5 separate regions of the Homo sapiens genome follow, and regions 1, 2, 3 and 4 are each linked to region 5. Evidence: promoter capture Hi-C in 16 types of primary human blood cells and fetal thymus (Javierre and others, 2016). All regions are on one chromosome and are shown on one strand. Each heading gives the region's core, a stretch centred on a gene start or on the middle of the fragment in contact. The rest is flanking DNA. Distances are from core to core; before and after follow the strand shown.

Region 1 (4,724 bases), core at 1,174-3,673, 320 kb after region 5:
AGAGAGCCAGAGGGCAGTTCAGCAAAACAAAATCACAGCCACCTCGGGATCCCCAATTTGTCCAGGGACAACAACAGTAGCAAAGATACGAGGTCTTGGAGAGAAACCCTCCCAGAACCCACACAAGCAGAGGTGGAAAAGGTAGACTGGAAACCTGGTTTCTTCTTTTCCTGCTGTTCCAACCAGCAAGCCCCTTGCCCAGGCCCTACCAAATATATACCCATTTTTCTTCCAAGGTGTGTCCTTTCAAGGTATGGGGCCTGCAGTATAAAGCTAGTGATTTTCTTTGCTTAGAACAGCTCTGGGACTTCTGCACTGATTCTGCCTACCGGAAAACATCTGCTATTAATAATGCCCTACTAATAGTAGCTAACAGTGCCAGGCACTGTTCTAAGCATATTTCCTATATTAGCTGTGATTATCACAACCCTGTGAGGCAGGTGCTAATGTCAACTCCAGCTTATCCACTGAAGACTCAGAGGCCCAGAGAGGTTAGAGGAACTTGTCCAAGGTCACAGTCAGGAACTTCAGGGGTCAGAATCCAGATCCAGGTAGCCTGGCTCAATGCCCCTGTGCTACGGCACTGCCACTTTTCTCTCCGAGGCCCAGCCCTGCCTCTACAGGTGCTGTGCTCCAGCAACGTTCAGGTGAGGCACTTTACTTTTCCCTTTGTGATGTGTGCTTTAATGATAATGAGACAAGATGGATTAAATTCACTTTCATGATTGTTTCCCAGAAGGCAGCAACTGCTTTCGGGAGCAGCTGAAGGCTGGAGATAACATGGACCTCCATGGTGAGTCAGTAAGACCCATCAATCAGGCACAGCCAGGGGAGGAGGCAGACACTGCAGGGAAGATGGCCACCAGGAGCAGCTGAGGGATCCAACTGCTGGATTAAGGGAGATTGTGTGGTTAGGAGGCCTCCCCTCCCATTGTAAGATGAAGGAGGTACATTTGTCCATTGTCAGGAGGATCATAGAAAATCTTAATCTCCACTATGTGGGACTGGTACTTCAGAAGCTCCAGGCAAAGACTTAAGTCATTAATAGGCTTAATATAAAGGCTTAGCTGTTACCTACAACTCAAATATCTTGGAGAAATGTTGCCCCCCAAAGGGCTACACAAATATTACTTCTCTAAGTGAGCCTCAGCTTAGATGTGGGAAATGGTCTTATATGCAGAGAAATTTCATTAAATTTTAATAAGTATTTTTCCACATTTACTTCACCTTTTCTTTTTTCCTTCTGGATAGTGGTGTTCTAGTTCCCTCCCTACAGCCCCCTTTTAACTGTCCACTTGTCCAGTTACCCACCTTCTGTAGGAAGTATTCATTGACTGGGAACTGCAAACTCGGTGATCTAGCCACTTCCCCTCAGTTGAAAGTTGCTATGTCAAGAAAAAGAACCTGTGCAATTAGAATAATTGGAACTTTCCTACCTTAAAGATGTTCATATACCTGGGTTCTAAGCATGGGAGATAGTAGTGGTAAATAATGTATGAGCTCTCTGAGGAGGTAGGTGAAGATGAGATCTGGAACTCAAGGAGGGTTAAATTTAAGCAGAAGCAGGGTAGCCTCTTCCACTGTGAAGGACTGGAGTAATGATTAGAGGGCGGTGACTGTCAACCTTGACTACACCTTAGAATCACCTAAAGGGAGTTGTTGAAAACCCCAATGCCTGACTTACACCAAGACCAAGTGATATAATTAGGCTTTGTGTCCCCACCCAAATCTCATCTTGAATTGTAATCCCCCAAATCCGCATAATCTCTCCAAGGGAGGGACCAGATGGAGATAATTGAACCATGGGGGTGGTTTCCCCCATGCTGTTCTCGTGATAGTGAGTGTGTTCTCCCAAGATCTGATGGTTTTATAAGGGGCTCTTTCCTCTTCTCTTGGCACTTCTTCCTGCCACCTTATGAAGAAGATGCCTGCTGCTTCCCCTTCACCTTCCACCATGATTGCACATTTCCTGAGGCCTCTCCACCCACGCTGGACTGTGAGTCAAATAAACCTCTTTTTTTTTTTTTTTTTTTTTGCAAATTACCCAGTCTTGGGCAGCTCTTTATAGCAGTATGAAAATGGAATAATACACTAAGCAAATCAGAATCTCTGGTGTCAGGCTCAGACTTCAGTAGTTTTAAAGGTCTTTGGGTGATTCCAGTATGCAGCCAAGGAAGGAGCCCACTGATATAGCAGTATAGCAGGGCAGCAGAGGATGAGGCCCGTCTGAGTTTGGATCCTACAGAATTATAGTGGCCCTGTTATAGAGTAATGAGATTTGTCTTCAGAAGTATTGAGCACTCACAGATTTGTATTAGAGATGTCAGAAAATCGGATTGAGGTTTGTAAATTGGGTGTGTAGAACACAGACAATGGAGTTGAGAGTGTTGGCTCAAATAATTAAACATTAGTCTGAGAGATCTTGATTTTGAAAGAAAGTGAAGGAGCTTCATTTAGGTGGCACACAGGTGGAGAGAACATCTGGGCCAAAGGATTGAAGCTGTTGATGAAGGTGACAAGGGATGGTCTCAGAGCAAATAAATGAGAGCTGGGAAGTAAGAGGCTGTGGTGAAGAGAGGATTTGGTGAGGCATTGTTTTCAGACCCATGATGGGATTTGTTATAGAAAGACAGCTCGAATTAATGATGGTCCAGTTGAAGGGTTACAGAAAAAATTTATTCCATGCACACTGTCTTACATATCATTTTGGGACTGTGTGTATTGATTATGTTTTTTATTTTCTATGTTTTATGATGCTTCAACATCTTGGAGGCCTTGTTGGCTGGGAGAGACTGCTCCTGTCAGTGCTAACTAGTTCCTAGGTATGCAAACATCTTTAAGAAGGGAAAGTTCCCATTGTTTTAACTGCATAGATTCTGTCCCTATGAAGTGGCAACTTTCAGCTGAAGGGAAGTGGCTAGATCACCAAGAGTTTGCAGTTCCTGGTAAATGAATACTTTCCCAGGCTTTGGGATAACTGGACAAGTGGGAATTTAGAAGAAGGGGCAAATGTGTCCCCTGTGAGAATGTCATTAAGATGCAAACCAACCAATCCAGAGCTCATATACTCAGTCACCTCCTTTATCTAACTCTCACATGCCAAGTCAACATTTTCCCCACCCTAATCACCCCAGGGTGAGGTCTTGGACTACTAGATACCACGCATGTCATCCAGAGCCTGCTGAAATTATTCAAACTATCCTATCTTAGACTTCCTTAAGTTTTCTACTCCACTCACTCATTTCTTCCCATAGAAACCACAATCAAGTCTCTCGGGCATGGTCTTCCCTTTCTTTTTCTGTCTCCTGACAGAAAGAGACAGTATGCCTCTCCACGTGGCCCTGCATGACACAGCTTGCCTCCCCCTCTTAGGAACTGTGAGTAATAAACTGTTCTTTCAAAGGCAGCTGTTTCTGTGTCTGTCACTTTACCCTACCTGATTAAAACAAATCTGGGTACAAATCTTGAAACAGTGTTAAATATTTCAGCATTTAAAATGAAAGACAATGTTATTTCCCATTCCAGCAGTTGATTACACAGATTTGAATGGCTTCTCTGTGTTCTTTTAACCCTGGATGGAGTGTGGCAGTCATTATATGATCTCTGGCTAGACAGCATTTCTGTATGTGTGTTTTGTTGTTTGGTCAGTAGACCTTTGCACATGCACCGCTGAGGTTTGTACAGGTGAATTCAGTACTTTCTGGGTTGGAGTAGGCATCTTAAAAGCCATCTTTGGCTCCAGTCATACTATTCTAGAAATCGCAGTATCATTTTGGCACTGTTGATTACTCCATCCTTGAAATTCCCTTTCTTGGTTTCCATGACACCACAATATGTTTGATTTTCTTCTACTTCTCTGATTGCTCTTTTAAAAAAAACTCCGTTGGGTATTCCCCTTCCTCTGCCTATCCTGTATTTTTATTTGAAAAGCATTTATTGAATAACTGACACATACATGTATGTAAGGAAGGTATTCGATGAAAAACGTAGGTTTATCCCACCTCTATTCCCCAGTCTCCAAACTTTTACTTTGGCAGAAATATGTGTGTCTTTATCTGCGTGTATACATGCACACGTAGAGAACACATAGGAAATATACAGACACATACATGCACATACAATTATATAAGTGTGTGTATATATATATATGTGTATATATGTGTGTGTATATATATGTGTATATATATGTGTGTGTATGTATGTGTGTATATATATATATATATATTTGTTTGAGATGGAGTTTCGCTCTTGTTGCCCAGGCTGGAGTGCAACGGTGCAATCTCTGCTCACCGCAACCTCCACCTCCTGGGTTCAAGCGATTATCGTGCCTCAGCCTCCCAAGTAGCTAGGATTACAGGCATGTGTCACCACACCTGACTAATTTTGTATTTTTAGTAGAGATGGGGTTTCTCCATGTTGGTGAGGCTGGTCTTGAACTCCCGACCTCAGGTGATTGGCCTGCCGTGGCCTCCCAAAGTGCTGGGATTACAGGCATGAGCCACTGCACCCAGCTACAATTAAATATTTTTGCTCATAAATGCTAGCATACCATAAACCTTGATTTATTTACTCATTCATTCAACAATTTTTTAAGACTCTATTCCATGCCAGACACTGATAGGAACTGGGAATACCATGGTGAGTGAAGCAGATGGCCTTTCACAGAGTTTATGTTGGAAGGAATGGGCAATTAGCAGTAGAAATGCAAGTAAGATGATTTCCAG
Region 2 (4,208 bases), core at 721-3,220, 280 kb before region 5:
TTCACATAGTGAGTTTGAGGTCCCAAGATGTTATTTTCCTTTCACATCCTCCCACCCTGTTCTTCCAAATCTTTCAGGGAAAGCATTGTAGAAGAAAGTGAGTGTCTGATCTCAGGTTTGGTCTGATCCCTTGTCACTAGGACAGTTTATTTCTAGAGGGTTAGGTCCCTCATTTTAGAAAGGATCATTCTTAGCAGGTTGTGAAGTTTCATGTTCCACAGAGAAAAATAGGGGAAAGAAGAGAGAAAGAAAACCAGTAGAAAAGGAGGAAAGATCATGACAACAAAAGGGGAAAGTAATCCTGGAAAACTGATTTAGGCTATATTGCTCTGAAGTCCATGAATGAGTAGGCAGGCACAAAAGTGGTTTATATATATAAATAATTTGCTGTTACTTTTCCCAAAGTTTAAGTTTCAAGTTTCACTTGGCAGAACTTTAAGAAAAGCACAGTTTTAATTTTAATTTAATTTTAAATTAAAATTTCTAGTTTTAATTTCTAGATTCCAAATGAGAAAAAAAAGGGAAAAAATGAAAGAAAAAGGAAAAAAAAAATGAACAGTAGTTTGGAGACTTGTAGCCAGGAAAGGACTTAGGATTCAGTCCAAATGCATTTTAACAAAGAATGAAACTGAGAAACAATTGATAAGGTGGGGTCTAAGAAGAGGTGTTTTATATGTTTTTTTAAAAAAAAAAAAAAACATAATTTTTATCTCAGTCCTCCATTTTTATCAAAGACAAATCATAGTAGGACTAATTTATTTGTAGAAAAGCTTTAGTTGTATTATACTTCACCTGATTCTTTGTATAAAGTGCAGCAAGAATAATTATTTTCTATTTAGGCTTTTTTAAAATTGACTTTGCTGGAAACTTTTTTATTTAAGGAATCTTAGTTTAGACTTTTTAAAGGCCCCAAGCCCAGTCAAGAATTTATTTGTGCCTGCAGATATCTGTATGAACTGGGCGAATGCCTCTCTTCTTAATCCCAAGATAACTTGGGGTTCCCGGGCCTGCCAGAAAGTAACGTTCTTTACTTATCACAGGTTGGGAACCCTGTAAAAGAATTGTGTAGGCAAGGTACAAGGCCAGTTTTTTTAAGGATCTTTTATTGGCTCTATAAGTCAATGGCAATTCCTTAAAACAGTTTGTTGTTTTGTTTATAGCTTAAAATATTTCATTCTAGTCAAAGCTTTAGTAAAATAATAGTCTCCAATTGTGTCCTGTTACAAAAGAAAGCAGATTCTTATTGAGCTCATACAAATAACTATATTGTTATAAATTAAGAATACTCAAAAATAGTTTTCAAATTCTGGAGAAATCAGGTAGAGAGAAAGAAATATGCTTTAAATTTTGCTCACAAGAGCATATTTTACTCAATTGTTAAAAGCTGTAAACAACCCAAAAAATGAAAAGAATCACCAATGTTTCAGACAAAAAGATCACACAAAAAATTATTTTAGTCTTCTATTAGCTCAGTTCATGCAATTAACCTCTGTTCTATTTGATATTGGGTCAACAATCCTCATGAATACATCAGATCTCCAGGAGTGTCCTGGAAGATTTTTTTCCTCTATTTTAATGGCACAATCTCCAAAGCTGTCAGAAACCTGCATTTAAAAGTATCCATCTGATACAGTTTGGCTTTGTGTCCCCACCCAAATCTCATCTTGAATTGTAATCCCATAATCCCCACATGTGGTGGGAGGGACCCAGTGAAAGGTAATTGAATCATGGGGGGCAGTTCCCCCCATGTTGTTCTCATGCTAGTGAGTTCTAATGAGAACTCACTCATTCAGTGAGTTGCCCACTGTACTCTAGCATGGGCAACAGATGGTTTTATATGGGGCTACCCACTTTGCTTGGCACTTATTCTCTCTCCTGGCACCCTGTGAAGAGGTGATTCTCCAGTGATTCTAAGTTTCCTGAGGCTTCCCCAGTCATGCAGAACTGTGAATCAATTAAACTTTTCTTTATAATTTACCCAGTCTCAAGTATCTCTTCATAGCAGCATGGGAATGAACTAATACACCATCAGAGTCCTATAACTGATTATAAGCAACTTTTTGAAAAGGAACAAAGTAAAATAATAATTGTGAATGACAAAAGATATCCACAGTCAAAGATATAATTGACAAGGAAATCTGGTTATTTCTGTGGCACACAATAATTTACCATAATTATAATTATTACTGATCACATATACCAAGACATATTAAAATTATAAGAATATTATACAATTTTGGAACACATAACAATAGCACATTTATATAAATATATTTCAAAGAAAGTTACACACCATTTTATACTTGGCAATGCCTCCTGTATGATTTTAACATATCAAATAAGCCAAATATGCCTCTGTTGGACATTTAAAAGTCAGTTTGAGGTTAAAAGACTGCATTTAGAATTTAATCTTGGAAAGTTAGTCCAACATTAAAAGTTTAAAGCACTTGATATCGCAAAATGAGATTACAGGTCATTATAATCATTTAGCTAAAGTGATAACTCACCAATTTTAAAAAAAAGCAGAAATCTTTACTCCTTGATAAAGAAGACCTCAGTTTTCTAAAAAATAGGACCTAATAGAGACAGTGTGAAGCCAACTGAATCTGTCTCTCCTCTCCTTCTTCTTTAATTTTTTTGGCAGTTTATTCAAAGGGCAAATGAAAATCTTTTACTATCTCTTAATATTATACAAAAATCTTATTTAAAAGAGAAAACCAAATTTTATTTTTGTATTACTGTATTGTTAATTCTAAAGCTTTAATAGAATCTTATAAGCAAATCTACCAAATTTTAATTAGTTTGATTGTAAGGTAAGATTTCCATGAGGCTTTTATAAACTTTACAAATTTGTGTTAAAGAACACATCAATATTCCAAGAAAATCCTGCCTCACACAGGTGCTCAGATTCTGACCCTGCATCAATGTGCTATTTATATGAATGTTCAATTTGTATAATATCTAAATAATCCCCTTAAAATTTTAGCCAAACTTGATCACACACAAAATTCCTTTTACAAGATCAATCTTCCACAAACCTTCTACGACTTGCTTAAACCTTCAGTTTTGTCGTTTCTGTTAACTTGAAACAGTCCTTAAAATCCTCTAAACTAGAAAAAAACACTTTCTCTTAAAAAAGAACCACACTCCCATGACTTATTTTAACATTTGTTCTCCAAAAAAAAACACAGCCTACCTGTTTAATACACATTGTATGTACCTAGTAGTTTTAATTACATTCATTAATTTATAATGTTAACTCTTAGTAATTCTTATTTTAGTGAAAAACCTAGGCAGTAAGCAATTTTAATTACATACCAGGTGCACAAGCCAGGACAAAGGACAATACCTGGGGGCAGGCCAAGGGCTCAAATCAAAAGACATATAAGTTTATAGACAAGTTAAGCAAGTATTAAAAAGATTACAGGGCTAGTGCAGTGGCTCATGCTGTAATCCCAGCACTGTGGGAGGTCGAGGCAGGTGGATTGCTTGAGACCAGGAGTTCAAGACTAGCCATGGGCAACATGGCAAAACCCCATCTCTAAAAAAAATACAAAAATTAGCTGGGTGTGGTGGTGCACACCTGTAGTGCCACCTACTTGGGAGGCTGATGGGGGAAGATTACTTGAGCCCAGGAGGTCGAAGCTGCAGTAAGCAGTGATCACACCACTGTACTTCAGCATGGGCAACAGAGCAAGACCCTGTCTCAAGAAAAAAAAAAAAGGACTACAGAAGCAGAATTTTAAAGTGCTTCTACTATGAAGAGAATAAAGAAGAATGATGGTGACTGAGCAGTTTTACATACCCTGCCACCACTGTGTCCCAGTGTGTGCGGGCGTGTGTATACACATTGTGCAATCCCTCACTGCTGGGCACTCAGCCCTGGGCTGGTGTATCTGAATTAACTGTCTGTGGTTTCACAAATACCACTTACTTCTTTGTTATCCCAGACCACAGTCCTTTGAAAAGCTGACATGGCTTTTTGCTAAGGGTGATGATGGGGCTGGGATTAGAAGTATAGTGCTGGAGACACAAGAGAGGCTGACCATGAGCACCTATAATGGGTGCCCTGGACACATGATTCCTAATTTCCCTCCTGGAGAGGGATGACCCTTCCTCTATTGTTGCTGTTCCTTTCACAACTCAGTGTGGGGCAAAGGGAGATGGGAATGGAGGATGGCTATGTCAGGAGAACAAGCAGGAGCCTG
Region 3 (4,485 bases), core at 1,900-4,399, 370 kb before region 5:
CTTCTGGGCCAGTGATGTGGTCAGGCTGCTCCCTCTGGGAGATCTGCTGCCAGAGCAGAGGAATCCTACCCCATGAGCTGGGGAGGAAATGAGGCTAGTCTTCTTTTAAGAGTGTGGTGAATCACCCCCAGCCTCCCTGGGAACCAGCTATACTCTGCACTTGTTATCTTCTTTGCATTCCTGCTGACATCCTGGTATGTAAATATATTTAATGACTCATTATTTACCTGTAAACTAAAGGTAACTCTCCAGCTCCCCCGGGAGACATCAGAAGCCTGGGAAAGCTTCAGAGAAACTGTGATACTGATAGAAGGATGAAAAAAGATTTTAGTTTATCTGAAATTGGAAACTAGAGCTAGACATGTTACCTGGGAGATGAAAGGATAGGGCTCAAGAGATTCAGGTATTTTGGGGTAATCAAAGCAGAAATGCTCAGTTCTGAGGGCAGGAAGCTTCTATGACAGCCAAAGGGATCGCCTGCATAATCTTCATCCCTGGCAGACAGATTTTGAGACCTGGACAGGCATAATTAACTCCTGAACTGATCAAAGTTGGAATCTGCTCCATGTGTCTCTAATGGGCCAACTAGATCTAATTTATCCTCTAAATGCAATATGAGTAATAGGAAACATCACAGAGACTTGGAATCATATGGATTTGGGTTCATTTCACAGCTCTGCTTCTTGCTGGCTTGGGAACTCTCAAGCAAACCCTGATTCTCAATTTTCTTATCTATAAAGTGAAAATAATGATGACAATATCTAAAAATTGTTGAAAGATGCATTTTGCCTGGTGCACTGCAGGCAGGCACTCTTACATATGTTGGCTTTTTTTTTTTTTTTTTTTTTTTTTTTTTTTTGACTCCCTATGTCTGCAGCAAAGATTGGGAGATTTACAATGGCATGGGGTGGAAGGTAGGGGCTGAAGGGATCACGAGCCACAAAAAACACAGTCAAGCCACGAATTCATAATAGTAAGGATTCATAATAGCTAAGCATGGGACTCTGCTAGGTAGCTGCTAAAATGTCATTCTGCTGAAATGGGACAAAAGACCTTCAGATGCCTGGAGGACACCAGCACACCCTTGGAAACTCCTCTTCCCTCTGTCTTTGCCATGCTCTGTATTCTGAAGGATTCATATTCAGAACAATTACTTAGTTTGGGTTGGATGTGGTGGAGCGGTTTGAGATGAAAACCCAGGAAAGAAAGCCGTAAAAGTGGCTGAACAGGGAGAATAAGCTTTAAGCAAATAAAGCATTTGTAACACTTTCCCATTTCATCAGGGCCTAGTGATGTCATATGTTTGTTGTTGTTGCTGATGCTACAGTAACACAATTCCAAGTTAATGTTGGGGTTCTTGCTTCTGACAGTTTTGGCTGTAGCACATTTTTTTGTTTGCATTTGAATACACCATATGTATAGGGGAATGTTTTGTTTTTTATCATTTCAAAATGGAATTAATCCTCTTATAACATTTATTTAAATGATAAATCAAGTGGTAAATATAGTTTGCTTGCAGTGAACATTTGGAACATATGATGAAAAATAGCTATAGCCAACGCAAGAGCAGTTTTCATTGAACAGTTGTTCAATCTCAGTTTTTAATAAATCTGATAATATAATATCTGTGCATGTTAGGATTGCAGAGAGTGAAGCCAAAATAAATATGTGCACACATAGCCTATTCCTCCCTTTCTTTCCATTTCTGTTCTCTTTCCTCTTTGCTTTTGAAATTTTTATTTAGTCCTGAGTGGGGATGGGGTGGAGAGAAAGTGGACAGTGGGTGGTGGGAGATACAGGGAGAAAGAATGAGAATTGCTCTTGTTCTCAAGGGTACCGCATCACGTTTTCCTCTGGCTGGCAGTCTTTAACACCAGCGTATCCTATGAGACCTGACTTCACTCATCAGCTGCATCAGCTCAGTGTCATTACCACATGTAGACAGCAATGTAATCCTCCTTCTTAGAGATGCTGCAGCAGATTGGAGGGTGAAGAGATGTATCAGTCAGATCAGAGTAACCAGCTGGCTCCTGGCTCCTGATCATTGTCACAGCTCAGTAGCTGGAAGCTCCTTCCATATGGCTGATGCCTTTAAAAAAATCTCCTCAATCTCCATCCCCATCTGCAATACTGTTTAGTTATTCAATCATTTAAGTCATTCATGTATTGAAAAGAGGATGGGGATATGATCCCTCTGCTCTGTGGCAGTAGATCTACTAATGGGAGAGTCCTGGCCGCACATCTGGCCTGGGTCTGGAGGTGCCCTACGGAATTGAAAGCTGGCTGGAACTGTCATCTTAACATGTCCTGGTCATCTTAACGTGTCCACCTCTCTGGCAAGCCTCTTTTCAAGTCTTTTTGTTACCATCTTCAGCTTTTTCCCTCCATACTAGATTCTTAATGAATTGCTGCCAACAAGAGAAAGCTTTATACATGAAGAGAATGGCAATAAGAACTAACTCGTCTTTTTAATTTTAAAACTGGTATATATTCCTATATAATAGGAATGGAAGATACTTGCAAAGCCTATTTGTTCCTCTACAGAAGAGTTAAAAATTACCTGGGCTAATGGAAAGAAGGGAGAGTCAGCCAATTAGATGCTCCTGAATGCCCTGAATTGTGACTTACCTCTTCTTATCCACATCCTGATCAAGGAAAGGGATGAGAGAGAGGTGGAGAGAGAAGAAATGGAAATTCAAAAGTTTTGACGGCAGAGGAAAATTGTGCTTATTTCCAGAATGAGACGAACAAGGTCCTGGGTCCCTACATGTCATACTGGCTAGAGACTGGTAAGTAGAAATGACTTGTGGTCAGCAGAATAATGGCTCCCAAGGATGTCCACATTCTAATCCCCAGAATCTGTGCATGTGTTAGATTACATGGCAAAGGGGAATTAAGGTTGAAGATGGAATTAAGGTTTCTAATTGGATGCCCTTAGAACAGGGAGAGTAGTCAGAATTAATCAGGTGTGCCCCATACAATCACAAGCATCTTCAACATGGAAGAAGGAAGCAGAAGAGAGTCAAAGAAAGAGATGTGGACATGGAAGCAGGCAAGAGAGATGCCATGCTGCTGGCCCTGGAGGTAGAAGGGGGCATGAGCTAAGGAATGAAGGTGGCCTCTAGAAGCTAGGAAAGGTAAGGAAATGGGTTCTCTTCTAGAGCCCTCAGGGAAGAATGCAGCCTAGCTGACAGCTTGATTTTAACTCGGTGAAACCTGTGTCAGACTTCAGAGTTACAGAACTGTAAGATAATAAGTTTGTGTTGTTTTAAGCCACTAAGTCTGTAGTAATTTATTAGAGCAGCAGTGGAAAACATACATGGCTCTAGAATGTGTCTTAACAGAGGGACCTGAGGTAGTCTCCAAGAATCCCCAAAGATCTCAGGATAGATCAGGAATAGCCATTTTCTCATTCACAGGGAAACAGATTAACTGAGAGAAGCCATCAAGCCTGAAGAGACATCGTGTTTGAAATGTGTAAGGCACAGTGTACCCGCCGTGGATCAAAACAACCTGAAGGACAGACAGACAGACACACCGAGGATCAGCAGATATCAGTGGGGACAGGTGCTGATGATGGTGCAAATGAGAGTCATGAAGGAAAGTTAAATGATGACCAAAGACCAAGTACCTTCCCCACAATGCTTTGACAAGCGCTTTTATAAGCACCCTGGAATTTAGACACTACCCGGGGAGAAAAGGAAAGGGAGACAAGCATGAATTGTCTGAGAAACCCCTGAATTAATCATGTGTACCCCAATGCAACAAGGATCTAGATATAGAATAATTTTAATTATAGAAAACAAAATTATATTTTACCCACCCATATTTGATGCCCATGAATTTCACATCTACCTTACGTGCACATAAAATTCAAGCTTAGATAGACGGAAAACAAAAAATCAAGAAGCAATATTTGCCTTCTAATAACTTATCTATTGGAGGAGGTAAAAGATAGAAAAGTAGTTCAGATGACAAATACTAAAAGAGTTAGGAACTTCTGCTTCCACTTACGATGAAGGAACTTGTACTCAATCCATCCACTTTGTAATTCTCCTTGAGCTGCTGTAATAAAGTACCACAAACTGGGTGACTTAAAACAACAGAATTTATTGTCTCATGGTTCTGGAGCCTAGAAGTCTAAAATCAAGGTATCAACAGAGCTATGCTTCCTCTGAAACCTGGAAGGAAATTCTTCCTTGCCTATTCCTAGCTTCTGTTGATTTGCTGGCAAATTTTGACATTCCTTAACTTGCAGCTACATAACTTTAAACTCTGCCTTTGGCATTACATGGCATTTTCCCTGTGTGTTTCTGTCTTCCCACGGCTGTCTTCTTACAAGTACATCAGTCATATTAGGAGTCCACAGTGCTCCAGTATGACCTCATCTTAACTAGTCACACTTGCAATGACCCTATTTTCAAACAGAGTCACATTCTGAGGTACTGAGGGTTGGGATGTCAACATATCTTTTTCTGGGGGGAT
Region 4 (4,619 bases), core at 1,458-3,957, 300 kb before region 5:
CTTTAGCCCCGTATGTGCCTTCAGTAAACTTTGGTCATAGGAATGAGAACTCCCTGAGAGCAGGAACAGTGTCATATTCATTTTCTGCAGAAAGGTGGAGTGCCTTATGTTCAATAAATGTGTAATGCATTAAATATCAGGAAGTGAGAAAACCCAAGCCCAAGGGGGAGATGACCTGGAGGACACGGGAGAAAGTTGAGAGCTCGACTTGGATCCCAGCAATGTAGATTTAAGCAGAGCGGGCTGCGTGCTAAGCACCAAGAAACGTCCACTGTAAAAAGAGGAGTTTGGGTTCCCGATCATCCTGGAGAGACTCAAAGCCTTCCTTTCTCACTAGACCATCCTGTACCGCATGGAATCCCACGCAATCCCACCCCACAGTTCTCCCTGTGAGTCCCCTTTGGAACAAATTCAACTTCACCATTTACTTGCTCTAGGGTTCTGGGCCTGCCCCATTCATAGGGGGATAACAGGACCCACCTTCCATTATTGTTACCGGGATGACGGAGATAAGGCAGGTGGTAGTACCTAGTACAGCACTGGGTTCTCAATCATTGTGTGCTCCTTTCTTCCATTAGCTCACCCCTCACTTGTCCATATTGTTCCTATTTACTTAGTCATCCCATGTTTATCTCAATGCCCCCATGCCTTCTCTTTGGTTGACGGCACAGATTAGGAAACTCCCCTTGCAGGCAATTTCAGCATCCTTCTGGGAAGTGCCCACCCAAAGAAGAGTCATTGCTCTGGACACCTGATATCCAGCAAGAAGAAGGCCAAGAAAGTGCGGAGGCCAGTAAGGAGATCAGGGCAGGGAGGGGGGATCCCTCCCAAGGGTGACATCAAGCCTTTCTAGCCAAAGTCTGCAGAGGCAGCCCCCATATGATCTGAGGAAAAGTGAGGGCAGACAGGACATGCGGAAGCAGCCTATTCTCAGCCACTCAGCGCAGGGCCTCCCCTCTGCTCTCCCCTGATATCGCACACAGGGAATCTCCACCACCCCTTCCAATCCCCCAGGCCTTTTTGCACTCTGTGCCTGGATCCCCTGGCCCTGGGGTCCTAAGAGTGGGAAGAGGATGAGTGAAGCCAGTGAGGACGACCTACTCTCTAACAACAATGCCATTCTGTTGCCCCAAGATGTCATCAGCCAAACATGTGCTCCAGTCCCCACTCTCCCAGGCCTTGGGGGAGAGGTGGGCGGCTGGAGAGATGGGAAGCCATAATTCACAGAAAGAGACCATCCCCAACCCAGAATCCTTCAGCAAAAGAAAACACAGGGGCCTCCAGGCAGCCTCCCCGGTCAGGCTAAAGCAGGCTCCTACTCTTGGGGTCAGAGAAAAACCCTAAGGCACAAAGACTTCAGGCTTTCCTCTATGACCAGACATCTGCCTCCTTCGTGACCCAGGGAAAGCCCCAACAGGCAGGACTTCCTTCTAGCATGCCACCAACTGGGTAGAGAACTCTATTAGAGACCTTGAAGAAGAGACCACATGCAGGGATAGCCCTGAGTTCCGATTCCCTGCTCCTCTCCTGCTCTGTACTCCAAGCTGTCATGGTGAAGAAAGCAGGACACGGGTTTAGGAAGTTTTCAGGGGCTGGAAGCCACCAGTGAATGTCCTTAGGGCTTAAACGCTAGAGTCTCGATTTCCACCACCTGAATGCGGAAGAGCACAGGTCCTCGGAACATCTGTTATTTTGACCCGCTTCCCCTCAGTCCCCACCCGCACTGAGAGAGAAATACACCTCAAGGTTGGGTTTGAGCGTTGTAGGTCTTCATATCCCCCCAGTGCTGGGCAAATAGTAAGGCCTTGGTCAGTGTCTGATGAGACAGATACATAGGAATGGTCACTTTTTTCACATTTTGTCTTATTTTCTGGTTCCTGGTGTCCGCGGTTCTCTCTGCTTCATTCATTCAATCGTTCACTCATTCCTCCATGCGAACATATGTATACTATGTGTTCCTGCCAGAGAGACTGTTCTAGAGGCAAGCAGTGGAGATACAGAAGGCATTGTCCTCACCTGCCGTCCCCTCTTGGGTGGAGGGGCTGTGATGCTCTATCCTTACAAGCCCCAGCAAGACGCCTGGCCCTTAGAGAAGTACTCACAAGAGGCTTGCAGAATCGAATTAGATCTTAAGATAGTGAACACCTGTGCCCATCTCAACCCCATCCTCTTTCACCAGCCCTACAGGCTGAGGCTCTTAAGACAGAATGCTCCCAAGGAGCCAGTCCGGGCCTGGGAGCACCATCTGTCCAGCCAAAGGTGCCAAACAAAGACGGGAGGTGAGGGAGGGGTGAGGGGTAGAGGTGCAGGCCTGGGGAGGTGGGGAAGGGAGCAGACCAAGGGGGCCTTACCTCTTCTGCTGCAGCAGGTTCTGCTCATCTCGGCTCTGGGCCCAGGACTCCCGTCTCTGGAACCATCTGCAGAACTTGCTCCATAGGCAGAGAATTAGCCCTTTCTCCTTGGGCAGTGACAAACCCATGGGGTGTAGGGCCGGCTCCTTGGGGGCCTGAGGCCGAGGCCAGACCCTGACGGGACTCAGCCTTGGGGCCACATCAGCCCCCCCAAGGGCCGGCCCACCGTCTCCCTGTAGAGGTCCCGTCTCCTGTCTCCTGCCTTCCTGACGAGTTCCTTGGGAGTCTCCCAGCAGCCCCAGCCAGTTTGGAGAGGGCTGTGAGTTTGTTACACTTGGCAGAGCCAGCCAGGACTCTGCAGGGCTGGCCTGTCTGGAGCTCCTGCTGGGAGTGAGCAGGAGGAGCCAAAGCTGCACGGACACGCCCTCCCTCCTCCCAAATTACCTGAGATTTAAAGACACAGGCCAGCCACAGACCTGCCTACCAAGGGGGACTTGTGCCAACTCCAATTCTTTCTCCACCCAGGGCTCTCTCCCTGCCCCCAGGCCAGTCACAACCAGGGAGGCCTTCAGAAAGACTGGCGAGGCCTCCCTTGGACGTCAGAACACCCAGTGACCTACCCTGAGAGACTCTAGGCAGTGAGAAAGGAGGGGAGGAGTCAGGGCAGGCCCATTCCCAATGTTGAGGACTCCCAGGAGGGAGCGCCCCACTTTCCCACAGTGCCTCTTCTGCCGACCACCTGCCTCACTCTCTGCCTCCCCCTGCTTATGTCCTGGAGAATTCCATTTTCTGGACTCTTCCAGTTTCATTCTTGCCAGGCCTGAAATAGGTATATAAATTGCGAAGATACTCAGTTCTCCCAGACTTTCCTCTCAGTCCCCATCACCTTTGGGTCAGCAAACTTTTTCTGGAAGGGCTGATAGGAAATGTAAAGATGTTAGGTTTTGCAAGCCATGTACACTCTCTAATGTACGTTATTCTTTGGTTTTGTTTTGGTGGTTGTTTTCTAACCACCCCCAAAGATGTAAAATGCATTCTTCGCTCACCAGCCAGGGCACAAAATCTAGCTCTGGGCAGACCCCCTGCTCAGGAGCTCCACAGACTGTCCACAATGCCCCGTGCATGGGGTGGGTGCCCGATAAAATACAGGACACGTGGTCAAATTTGAATTTTAGATAAACAACAAAGAATTTTTTAGTATAAATATACCCCACGTTTTGCAAGTATTCTATCTGCCAGCCTTCCCGTGGAGGTGACATTCAGCTGCTACTGTGTGCTGGGCCTTTTAACTGAGCGTTCCCAGGTAAACTCGTAACAAACCTGCAAGGCAGGTATTATTATCTACATTGTATTGATGGGAGAAACCAAAGCTCACCATGGTAAAGGAACTCTCCCAAGGCCATAGAGGTGGCAGAGGCAAGATTCACACCCATCCCTCATTCCAAGCCCACTTCTTTCTCCCTAGCACACCTCCTCATTCTAACTGGCCAACAGAGCTTCAGAGAGGTTAAGTGACTCGCACAGTCATACAGAAGAATGATGGCATTAAGCATGGCCCATCGTCTTCCCACAACAAAGAGCTCCATCATGAGCTTGCTGGAAGCTGTCGGAAAGGTCATTTAGTTCAACTTTTCCACTGGAAAGGGGCAGAAGCCCGGGCTTATCCAACCTCCTGGTGCCAGCCAGGTGCCAATAGCCTAGGGGCAGGTGTCTGGGTGTTCAGAGTCACAGGTGTGTGGATCACTTCCTAGCTTCAGAGTCTGTTTTGTCCTAACTTTCTCTGACTCAGAGTTGGAAGACCCAGCCAGGGGAGTGTGTGTGTGGCGTGTGTATGGCGTGTGTGCCCATGTGCATTTGTGTGTGGTGTTTATGCGTGTGTTCATGATGTGCATCGGTGGGGTGTTTTGTGTGTGGTATGCTGTATGTATATGATGTGCCTGTGGTGTGTTTGGTATGTGTCTACGTGTGTATGATATATGTGATATGTGTAGGTATGGCCTGTAGAGCGTGTGGATGTGGTGTCTGTGATGGTATGTGTGACATGTGTGTTGTGTATATACGTATTGTGGAAAGATTGTTGCATGTGTGTTGTGTGTATGGTGTGTAGTGGGTGATGTATATGGTACCTTTAAGGTATGTGTGCGTGTACATGATGTGTGTGTGTGTGTGTGGTGTATACATGATTTGTGTAGTGTATGGTGGGTTTACTATGTGTGTATGTATGGTGTGTGTTGTGTGTGTATGTATGTCATGGGGTGTGTGTCATAT
Region 5 (4,523 bases), core at 896-3,395:
GCACATGTACCCTAGAACTTAAAGTATAATAAATAAAAAAAAGAAAAAGAAAAGATCATCTTTTCACCCAGAAAGGTTATTTCATCCCCCCTCAGATCGCCCCTGGAAATTTCCATGAACAAAACTCTTTCCATTGCAGGAAGCACCTCTTTCATAAGCTGTGGCAAGCAGAGCATCTTCTGAAATGCCTTTGGTGATGTCTGTGGTCCCAGCTCCTGCCCACAGCCTCTGCAGCACCCTACACTGTGAAGCCAGACCCTGTCTGAGCTCTTTCTCATCTGGCTGCTCTGTCTCTGCTTCCCCTTCCTTTGTTCCCCTCTGTCACCCACCAGTGTTTCTTACACAGATGTTCTCTACAGTCTGCTGTGTTCTCACTGAACCTCACTGTTTATGCTCTGACACTTGATTTAGGCATAGGACCTGCAGATTTTCAAATTTGAGGAGACGTGGAACTGCCATTCCTCCTCATGTCTCTCATAAAGAGCTTCTCTGAGCTGAAGGTCTTCACTAAGGCCATATATCAACCCAGCAAGTATCTATGTACTGCCTCCTGGGTGTCTGGCATGGGCTAGGGGCTCAGAGTGGGATACATGGATAAACAAATCAAATGAGGAAAGACGCAACAGCCTCTGAAGGGACCATGTCCTGTTTCTCCTCCCACTCTTGGAAGCCTGGATCAGCAGAAGTAGGGGAAAGCCAGTGGCAAGAAAAATCCTCTTTAAAACCAAACTGGAGGTCCTGAGATACTCCAGGCCTACTTGTGCAAATGGGTAGAAACAAGCAGAGAGGAGCAGTTGTCTATTACGCTGTATTCAAGGGAAATATTTGTTCAGGAATAGTGATTTTCAAATGAGATGGTAAAATTCGTAACAACTCATCTAAAATCATTAATCAAGCCAGAAAACGTTTATGAGTTCTTGCCTTGTTTTTAAAAGGCTTTAAGTAAAAACCAAATGTTATAAAGATTTTCTGAGACTTCTCACCCACCAACTTTCTCTTTATTAGAATTATTACTTCATCATTATTTTAAAGTTACATACATTCATAAAAATTAATTTACCCTGAAATGAAAAGTCCATTTTATCATTATGTGTCCTATGCTTGCGTTTTAAAATCAGAAAAAAATTCCTTAAGATAAAAGTGATTCTTTTTTCCTTTCTTTTTGTTTTAATATTCCAAAATTGGATGAATTGGGACATTGCTTTTATTCTCAGGTTCGCTAGCTTACCTTGCTAGGAACTAGGGAGTTTTACCTTCAACTCTTATTTTCCTAGTTTTGCTTAAAATGAAAGGTGAATATGTGTGTGTGTGTGTGTGTGTGTATGATCTTTTATGTATAATTAAATTTATTACCTCTCAAGTAATCTACTTTGAAAAGAGAGTCCTATCTCTTAAAAATCAGTGTCTTCTTGCTTTATTGATTTTTCTTTAGAGGGTGGGGACATAAAAGGCTACCAGGAAAAAAATGTCATAGTGGAATCAACCCTGCATTTAGTCTTGGGCACACAAAAGAATCCACAGGTCTAGGTAGCATAACATGGTGGATAAGAGGAGGAACTCTGCGACCAGGTGACTTGGGTTTGAATCCCAGTTCTATCACGCTCTAGTTGTGTGATGTTGGCCAAGTTATTTAACCTCTGTATGCCTTAGTTTCTTCATCTGCAAAATGGAGGTAATAGAAGCACATGCTCATAAGGTTGTTGTGAGGTTTAAATGTAGTAATTATAAATAAATCATTTGAAAATTTCTTAGCACAAAATGAGAAGTGCGTGTGTGTGTGTGTATGTGTGTAGCAGTTTTTATTTTCAATCATTTTCTGCAGTCACAAGTGAAAGTAAGTTAAATGATGACTCAGTTAACCAATGTTCAAATTAACTGATGCTACCAAAGAACACGGACCTCAGTACCATGTTAGCTGCTTTTAAAGAGTCTACTCAAGCGCTTCCCTGGGCCTCATTATTGAACCACTACCAACATGTTCAAAAATAGAGAGAGGATTAGAAACCAAATCCTTCCAACATTTGCATCTCTAGATGTAGAGCTAAGAATTCTGAAATAAACAAATGCAGTGAATTTGGAAATGATACATCAATTGCTTCCTCCTATGACATCAATACTGGGAGTTATCAAGAGTCTGCCCATCAAATGCTAGGGAGATGTTTTCCTCCAGACACCAAAGAGAAGCAACAGCTCAGAATGACTAAACTCTGCGATCCTGCAGAAAGTGAATTGTCGCCATTTCTCATCACCTTAATTTTAGCAGTTTTACTTGCTGAATACCTCATTGGTATCATTGCAAATGGTTTCATCATGGCTATACATGCAGCTGAATGGGTTCAAAATAAGGCAGTTTCCACAAGTGGCAGGATCCTGGTTTTCCTGAGTGTATCCAGAATAGCTCTCCAAAGCCTCATGATGTTAGAAATTACCATCAGCTCAACCTCCCTAAGTTTTTATTCTGAAGACGCTGTATATTATGCATTCAAAATAAGTTTTATATTCTTAAATTTTTGTAGCCTGTGGTTTGCTGCCTGGCTCAGTTTCTTCTACTTTGTGAAGATTGCCAATTTCTCCTACCCCCTTTTCCTCAAACTGAGGTGGAGAATTACTGGATTGATACCCTGGCTTCTGTGGCTGTCCGTGTTTATTTCCTTCAGTCACAGCATGTTCTGCATCAACATCTGCACTGTGTATTGTAACAATTCTTTCCCTATCCACTCCTCCAACTCCACTAAGAAAACATACTTGTCTGAGATCAATGTGGTCGGTCTGGCTTTTTTCTTTAACCTGGGGATTGTGACTCCTCTGATCATGTTCATCCTGACAGCCACCCTGCTGATCCTCTCTCTCAAGAGACACACCCTACACATGGGAAGCAATGCCACAGGGTCCAACGACCCCAGCATGGAGGCTCACATGGGGGCCATCAAAGCTATCAGCTACTTTCTCATTCTCTACATTTTCAATGCAGTTGCTCTGTTTATCTACCTGTCCAACATGTTTGACATCAACAGTCTGTGGAATAATTTGTGCCAGATCATCATGGCTGCCTACCCTGCCAGCCACTCAATTCTACTGATTCAAGATAACCCTGGGCTGAGAAGAGCCTGGAAGCGGCTTCAGCTTCGACTTCATCTTTACCCAAAAGAGTGGACTCTGTGACCAGCACCCAAGAAGACCACAGGACCTGGCCTTACCAGCTCTGCCATTCCCTCACCTAGACCTCTCTTTTCTCTCTTCTTTTCTTCTCCAACCCTCATCTGACCCTTTTCGCCTGATGTGGCTTTTTATATAGGAAATTGATCATTTCTTTTTTGCTTCATGGGTACAATCTTAGTGGTACTGTCATATTCTTTACCTGAGCCCTCTACCTCCCCTTGCTCTGTTTAAAGCAGTGATTCTAAGCACTGGCTACCCATTAGAATCTCTAGGTTGATTTTTGAAAATACCAATGTTCAAACCCAATCTCAGATCTATTAAGTCAGAATTTCTAGTGTTAGAACTCACACAATTTTCTAAGATCTCCAGGTGATTCTGCTGTGCAGCAGGGTTGTATAGCCACCAAAATAGAAGAATGTTCTGAAACTAGTTCCTGACAACTCTCTTTCTCCCTCCACATGCCTTTTAAACACATTTAGATAACTTGGGAAGTTTTCTGAGCAGAAGTTTGAAATGCATTTTGTCTCCATCTTTCAAAGATATAACCAAAATAATGTGGAACTATTTATCAAAATTAATAATGCATAAAACACCTTTCATCCTAAAAATTACTAAGAATTTTTTCTAAGCATGGTTTTGTATAAATAAGCAAAAATATGTGCAAGAGGCTCTTCACAGCTGCACTGTTCATGAATGACGGGAATTGAATGTCTGAAATGAATATTATGTTAACCTTTTTTAAATGAGATAGATGCATGCTTCCTGAGATGAAAAGATTTCCAATACACAGTGCAAAAAGCAAGGAGATATTTTATGATTCCATCTGTATTTCTTTTTTTCATAATACTTATATATTTGTATGTATATATATGTACATGCAAAGTTTCTGGACAAATATACCAAAAATAATTCACAGAGGGCTTCTGAGTGGTGTCACTGGGTATCTGGGGAATAAATGAAATATTTACCGTTTATTTTATGCCTTTATGCATTGTTTGAATTACTTAGAACATGTATTCACTAATTTTAAAATTTTAAAAGATTTATATTGATTTTTATTAGAAAGAGAATTGGTAAGTAAAAAAGATTTGAGAGAAAGGATAGTGCACATTATTTTGTTGATTGGCTCTCTCACTATTGGGTTTTATTAAAAATGCAAACAAATCACAAATTAAACATCACAGGCTTTCAATCCATTGACACCTCTATATTCTCTGTCCCTCTATCAGGCCTGTCCTCTCTTCCTTTCATATTCAATTTGGATTACTGGTCAATCATTATACTCACCCTTCAAAAATAGCTTCAATATTTACAGATGAAATGAGCTGTATCTGTGATTTGCTTTGAATTAATCCAACATAGGA

What was found. The method cuts DNA at HindIII sites, captures the fragments that hold promoters and counts their contacts. A CHiCAGO score of 5 or more calls a contact.
Region 1: a fragment that was not itself captured here is called in contact with the fragment with the promoter of TAS2R39 in region 5 in 1 of 17 cell types (neutrophils); the score reaches 5.5 in neutrophils.
Region 2: a contact is called between a fragment that was not itself captured here and the fragment with the promoter of TAS2R39 in region 5, in 1 of 17 cell types (M0 macrophages). The highest score is 5.5, in M0 macrophages.
Region 3: a fragment that was not itself captured here is called in contact with the fragment with the promoter of TAS2R39 in region 5 in 1 of 17 cell types (total B cells); the score reaches 5.2 in total B cells.
Region 4: a contact is called between the fragment with the promoter of TRPV6 here and the fragment with the promoter of TAS2R39 in region 5, in 8 of 17 cell types (neutrophils, naive CD8 T cells, monocytes and 5 more). The highest score is 11.0, in neutrophils.

Annotation. Positions count from the first base shown.
Region 1 is chr7:143,504,038-143,508,761 of GRCh38, forward strand. It overlaps EPHA1-AS1 (EPHA1 antisense RNA 1), which reads left to right. Exons shown (of 5, transcript NR_033897.1): 3 at 737-793. Among named protein-coding and RNA genes, the nearest start is that of TAS2R41, 29 kb to the left of the region's middle. RefSeq lists a silencer at 417-877. The HindIII fragment of the contact is 6,452 bases long and covers 1-4,724 here.
Region 2 is chr7:142,902,941-142,907,148 of GRCh38, forward strand. No RefSeq gene overlaps it. Among named protein-coding and RNA genes, the nearest start is that of TRPV6, 19 kb to the left of the region's middle. The HindIII fragment of the contact is 1,572 bases long and covers 1,185-2,756 here.
Region 3 is chr7:142,813,337-142,817,821 of GRCh38, forward strand. It overlaps LOC105375541 (a long non-coding RNA gene), which reads left to right and starts at 861. Exons shown (of 2, transcript XR_001745392.2): 1 at 861-2,789; 2 at 3,420-4,100. The HindIII fragment of the contact is 1,453 bases long and covers 2,424-3,876 here.
Region 4 is chr7:142,883,038-142,887,656 of GRCh38, forward strand. TRPV6 (transient receptor potential cation channel subfamily V member 6) reads right to left here and starts at 2,708. Exons shown (of 15, transcript NM_018646.6): 1 at 2,352-2,708. The coding sequence starts at 2,599. The HindIII fragment of the contact is 18,692 bases long and covers 1-4,619 here.
Region 5 is chr7:143,181,274-143,185,796 of GRCh38, forward strand. TAS2R39 (taste 2 receptor member 39) reads left to right here and starts at 2,146. Exons shown (of 1, transcript NM_176881.2): 1 at 2,146-3,162. The coding sequence starts at 2,146. The coding sequence ends at 3,162. The HindIII fragment of the contact is 8,536 bases long and covers 1-4,523 here.